Linked DNA regions of Homo sapiens: region 2 is linked to region 1. Evidence: promoter capture Hi-C in human tissues and cell types (Jung and others, 2019). All regions are on one chromosome and are shown on one strand. The core of a region is centred on a gene start or on the middle of the fragment in contact, and the rest is flanking DNA. Distances in the headings are between cores, read along the strand shown. Region 1 holds the start of NOTCH1 (notch receptor 1). Region 2 overlaps FBXW5 (F-box and WD repeat domain containing 5).

Region 1 (2,920 bases), core at 324-2,823:
AGGAGTCTGGCAGGGCAGGGCCCCCCATCCAGCCGCCGAGATTGCCTCTGTTCAAACCCGTTCTGCAAGGGGGCAGAGCTGGACGGGGGGAGGGGGGGTGGCCACACTCAGCTCCCGCCCGTGGGAAAATGCGACAGCTGCTCGCCCGCTACCCCGCCCGCCAACAAAGCGCCGGCCTCCGCCTCAGAATCAGAGCGGCCCATTGTGGAGTCGGGGCCGCCTCCAGGGGCACCGGGACAGCACCCTGGGGACGCGGCCCCGCCTCCGCCGACACCCAATACCTGCCTCCGCGGGCGCGCATCTCCAGGGCAGCCCCCATACACCCACAGGAGGGGGATGAAGGTCCCCCATTCGGAAGGAATTCGACCCCATCTCGAGAAGGGATCAATTACTCAAGCCCCTCCCTCCCCATCTTACCGGGGCTGAGAAACGGGGGAGGGGGGTGTGACACAGAGCCGCACTTTCTGGAAGAGGACAGATAATTCTCGCCTCCAACTCTCGGAGAAAGAGTGGATTAATCACTCGATTCCCCAGAGACCCCGCTCGCTGTGCGGCGGGGAGAAATGTAAGAGCCCCCCACCCGCGTCCCGCTCTCCGCCCCCAAGCTTTCCAAACTTCAACTCCGCAAAGCAAAAGGAAAGTTCAGTCCCCCCGGGCGCGGCGGCTTCTTACGCAACCCCTCCCCCAAACTGAGAGCCGGGCTGGGGGGCACCGGCGGGCGGGGCGACCGGGAGCCCGGGGACCCAGCCCGGCCGCGCGGGTCAGTGAAGGCGAACGCGGCGCCGCAGAGCCCACACTCCGCGCCCCAACATCCGCCCCGGCGTGGGCCAGAGGCGAAGAAGAAAGAAGATAAATGGCCCGGAGAAGCAACAGGAAACCAAAACCGACTCTATTCAAATCGAAAAATAGTAGGCAGCCCGCCCGCCCGGCCGACCGGCGGCAAGCCCCACGCGCGGCGGGTGAAGGGCGGGCCCGGAGTAGGGCCTCCGGGGCCCCAGCACCCCACACCGGCCTCCTAACTCGGCTCCAGGCACGGGCGGCGCGAGTCCGCCTCCACGGGGGGATCGAGGGGGAAGGTCGGTCCTCCCTGATCCCGGGACTCCAGAACCCCACGCCCCGGGCCGCCCGCTTTTCCCTCTCCATGCTGGCCTCCCCGCCGCCCGCTCCCAGCCGTGGGGCGCGCGCGCCGGGCGCCGCCAAAGTTTCCAAAGGGCGCGGAAAGTGGGGGCTCGCGGGTGGGTGGGCGCCTACCTCGTGCGGCGAGCGCGGGCAGCAGCGCCAGGCAGAGCAGGGGCGCCAGGAGCGGCGGCATGCCTCCCCACCGGCTGCCCTCTGCGCCCGGGCGGCGGCCTCCTGCGCTGGCCGGCGGGGCTGGGACGCACACGCGCGGCGTACGGTCCCGGGGCGGCGGCGGACGGTCCCGCCCTCTCTTCCCCGGCTGGCTGGCGGCGCTGTGCTCTCGCAGGCCCCCGGGCCCGGCTCCGCGCCCGGCTCGTTCCTTCGCTGCGCTCGCGCCCGCGCCCGCGCCCCGCGCCCCGCGCCCTTGCGCTCCCTCCCGCGGCCGAGGCACTAGTGAGGCTCAGAGTCGAGGTGCGCTCCGCCCCCGCCGGCCCCGCCCCGCCCGGCCCCACCCCCGCCGGTCCCCCCGCCCCCTCCGCGGCCACCTCCTCCCGCACGCCCCGTCCGCCTTTGCGCCTCCCCGAGCTGAGCCGCGCGTCCCGAGCCCAGCCTCTCCGGGGAGGAGGGACCCGGCGGCGCGGCGTGGGTCGGGAGCGGGCGCCTGGGACTACTTCTCGTTTGAAAGTTTTCAGAGGCCAAAAGTTTGAGCCGGGGCTGCGGAAGGATCCGGCTCTGGCGGTTGCCGCGCTCGGCGACAACTGGCGACTGAAATTTGCATGTGAATAAGCGGAGGAGCCCGGGGCGGAATGGGGAGGGCGAGGCCGCGGACAGCCGTGTGCACCGTGCGCTGGGCCGGGCGGGGAGCAGCTGAGGCCACGTTGGGGGACCCCGGGCCCGGGGCAGGGCTCTGGGAGAGTGGCCTAGCCGTGTGTGCGCCCCTAGCCCAGCGGCTTCACTCCCTCCCGAGGGCCCCGTGGCCGCGGCTTTAGGCGTCCAGAGGATCGATCGCCGCCAGACATCCCTGGCCGTGATTGCCCGAGCACTTGACCGCGAGGGATGGGGGCGCCGCGGCCTCTGGGCAGGGGACTCCGGGCGCCCCGAGGGAGCAGCCGGGACCAGTGCCTCGCGGACGGATTGTGCCCCGCTCCCCCAAGGGGGACCCGCGTCGACACGCTCCTCGGTCACCGTCCTCCTCCTGCCCGGGCGCCGCCTGCCTAAGGTGGCCCCAGAAAGCACAAACGGGTCGGGCGGATCTGCCGCTGGCGCCGGCGCAGCCCTTCCCACGTGCTCCTTCCGGCTGATTTATTTCTCCACCACGATGCCAGGCACGGGCACCCTGTGCCAAGCCTGGTTAAGCGCCAGGAGTCCAAAATGCCTGCCATAGTCCCTGCGCAAAGTTCACGGCCTCGTGCCAGGGACAGACAGCGCCCCCTCCCCACCCCAACACAGGGTGGTGAGTGCGATGGCAGAAGGCGCGTGTCCCGGCGCCCCTCCTGGAGTAGGAGGGCTAAGCCTGCCCTGCGGGGAGACCGAAAGGCTGGGAGGGACCTAGGACTGTGGGGGCCTGGGGGGAGGGCTGCAGAAACCCCAGAGCATGGTGGCAGAGGCAGGCACAGAAAGCAGGACAAATCTCACACCTGACCCCAGCAAGCCTTTCCTGGCACACCTCTTGCCAAATGCTGAGCACTCTGGAAACAGCCAGTGCAGGCGGCCTGTCCCGCCCCTGTAGCTGCTGCTGGGAGCCTCCCTCGCCTGCGTCCTCCCAGAATCTGGCCTCACTTCTGCAGGCCTGGGGTAACAT
Region 2 (2,879 bases), core at 198-2,697, 390 kb after region 1:
TTTGGTGTGTCTTCCTTCCTTTCCTTGTTCTCGCCCACGTTGGGGGTTTTATTATGAACTGCAGTGGTCCCCAGGGCTTCCCAGCTGGAGACCAGGAGTTGGCAGGGCAGAGGCTCCGTCCCTCTGGGTGGCGCAGCCTCTCTCGGTGGTGCTGTCCCTGATCCCGTCGGTGCTCGAGCTCAGCCCCAGGGTCTCTACCTGCGGCCCACGTGGCTCAGGGGAACCATCACCTCGACACTCACTCGTCTCCTCTGCGTCCTTTCTCTGTACGGGGTTGCTTGCTGCCATGTTTGGAGCCACAAGCTCTGTGTGCTTCCTATAATGGGCAGCTGACCCGAGTGCCAGGCTCTACTCCTGCCATCTTCCTTGTCACCACCATCGCCCCGGGCCCCCGAGCTCCCGGTGCAGTTCCAACAAAGCCTGTGGGGTCCAGCTGGAGCTCCACCTCTGCTCCCACTTCTGGGCCCCTGGTCCCATCCTCGCCGGCCTGAACTGACTGTGGAGACCGCCCTGGCACTGGGAGCGACACGGCCTGCCGACTCTGGACCCAGCAGCCGAGGGACTCCCTCAAGGACGGGACTGTGGGGGGCCGCCCTGGCACTGGGAGTGACGCAGCCTGCCAACTCTGGACCCAGCAGCCGAGGAACTCCCTTAAGGATGGGACTGACTGTGGGGGCTGCCCTGGCACTGGGAGCGACGCAGCCTGCCGACTCTGGACCCAGCAGCTGAGGAACTCCCTCAAGGACGGGACTGACTGGGGGGGCTGCCCTGGCACTGGGAGTGACGTGGCCTACTGACCCTGGACCCAGACGGCAGGCCCTGCATGCTGCCAGCCCCGGCACATGTGCCAGGCATCTCCCTGGAGGTCATGGAGGACAGGGCAGTGTGACAAAGTCTGGCACCAGCACATGACCTCAGACGCACATGTCACCTGTCAGCAGTGACTGCAACATTCACTCCAGTAGGACCACTGTGCCAGCAATAACAGCGTCACCCGTCAGCAGTGACCATGAGGTCCACTCCACTGTGCCAGCAGTGCCCACAGTCTCCCTCCCTGCAGACAGAGACTGGACAACAATGTGCTGTTGCCAACTGTTTATTCAGGGCCCTGAACGGGTGGTGCGTGGACATGCAACACACTCGGGCCCACAGCAGCGTGACCGGCCGCTCCCAAGCCCCGGGCGCACAACCACAGCCAGGAGCAGCCCCTGCCACCACTGGGCCACCGTCCAGGGCCCCACAGGACCAGCCGAAGGTGCCCCGGGCCGAGGCCAGCTGGGTCAGGTGTACCCCTAGCCTGGGGTTGAGTGAGGAGCGGCACCCCCAGTATCCTGTGTACCCCAAGTTGCCCAGGAGGCCGAGGGGGCCTTGGGCTCCATCTGCACTGGCCACCCCGTGCCAAGCATCACAGCTGCGTGAGCAGGTTTGTGTGTGAGCGTGTGGCGGGGCCTGGTTGTCCCCTTCCTAAGGCGTAACTGCTATAAGCATCTCCACCTCTCCCGCTCGGGAAAAAGCCACAGAGCCTGGCGATGTCCTCAAGGGGTCCCGGTGGCTCCAGTGCACCCAGCACACCTCAGCGCCTCTGGCTGGCAAGCCAGGAGAAGAAGGTGCGAGGCCGTGGGCGAGGTGCCTGGAGGACGCGCATGGTGCGTGGGGAGCGCCAGGCTTTGATGGTGGCGTCGTCGCTGGCCGTGAGCAGCAGCTCCTGCTCCTGGGGACTGAAGACCACTGAGTTGACCACATCCTCGTGCCGCAGCCTGGCCAGACAGATGTTGTAGTGGCGGTCCCAGATGTAGCCGTGCCGGTCCTCCGCCCCGCTGCAGAACAGCGCCTGGGTGAGCCGGCCGCCCGCCCGCTGCTGCCCACACCCGCCCTGCACCACGCCGCGCCCTGCACCTGGCCACGAAGTCCCTGCTGACGTCCAGGAAGATGAAGAAGCACTCGTCGTTGGGCGTGTAGGCGCGGTGCGCACGCAGAGCCCGCCTCACCTCCCGCATGGTCTTGAGGTCGAACACCAGCAGGTCAATCTCCTCCGCGATTGGTGGCGGCTGCATGGGGTCGGCCACCACCGCACCGTTGGGCCAGGCGCGGCTGTTCACGTACAGGTACCTGGGCGAGGGGCACTGTGCTAGGTGTGGGCCGCCTGCGGGCACCCCGCCTGGGACACTGGCAAGAGGCCCACCTGTTGTCGGGCGACAGGCCCATGCCGATGATGTGTCCGTGTATGTCTATGACGTGGTCCAGCGCGTCGAAGAAGGCATCGGAGCCCCGGCCCTCACCCAGCACGGGCCCTGCCGTGGTCATCTGGTGTGGCAGGATCTGCTTGATGCCTGCAGGGAGGGCTACGGTGAGGGTCCCTGTCCAATGCCCCAAGGACATCACTCCAGGGCAGCTTCCTACCTCAGTGGTGTCTCTGGGGCTGTGAGCACCACAGAGGTCCGTGGGCACTGCCTGCTCCGGGGGCCCCAGACCTGAATCAGGCCCGTCGGTTGCTTGCTGGCCAGCGGCCCTGCCTGCGTTTGTTTTCACTGCTCATCCCACAGGCCCCAGGTCTGGGCTTGTGACCCCAGGGGCGAGTGAACGATCCCAGCTTTGCCTGTGGACTTGCTTGCTGTCTGCCCCTCAGGACCCCTGCCCGGCCTCCCCCAAGCTCCTAGGACCGAGGCGGGCAGCATGGCGGCAGGGGTGTACCGATCTGGTGTGGGGAGTAGGTGAGGCAGCCAGTGGTGAAGATGAGGTACTTGCTCTTGGCGCCTGTGGCACTGCGCTCGGGTGGCTTGGTGTGGCCCTGGGCCAGCAGCTCGGCCACCTTGGTCTCTAGCATGCGCTCCGACAGCTGTGGCTGCGCCCGCCCCTCCAGCACGCGGTCCAGAAAGTGC

What was found. Contacts are between HindIII fragments. The study calls those that stand out against the background at their distance.
Region 2: a contact is called between a fragment that was not itself captured here and the fragment with the promoter of NOTCH1 in region 1, in 1 of the 25 tissues and cell types used here (lymphoblastoid cells).

What each region holds. Positions count from the first base shown.
Region 1 is chr9:136,544,475-136,547,394 of GRCh38, forward strand. NOTCH1 (notch receptor 1) reads right to left here and starts at 1,574. Exons shown (of 34, transcript NM_017617.5): 1 at 1,252-1,574. The coding sequence starts at 1,312. It overlaps MIR4674 (microRNA 4674), which reads right to left and starts at 1,785; the gene lies at 1,699-1,785. RefSeq lists enhancers at 409-458, 2,431-2,920 and silencers at 689-738, 959-1,218, 1,239-1,798, 2,139-2,238. The HindIII fragment of the contact is 7,823 bases long and covers 1-2,920 here.
Region 2 is chr9:136,939,355-136,942,233 of GRCh38, forward strand. It overlaps FBXW5 (F-box and WD repeat domain containing 5), which reads right to left. Exons shown (of 9, transcript NM_018998.4): 6 at 2,692-2,879; 7 at 2,183-2,330; 8 at 1,897-2,109; 9 at 1,081-1,817. The coding sequence ends at 1,574. Among named protein-coding and RNA genes, the nearest start is that of FBXW5, 3.9 kb to the right of the region's middle. The HindIII fragment of the contact is 5,626 bases long and covers 1-2,879 here.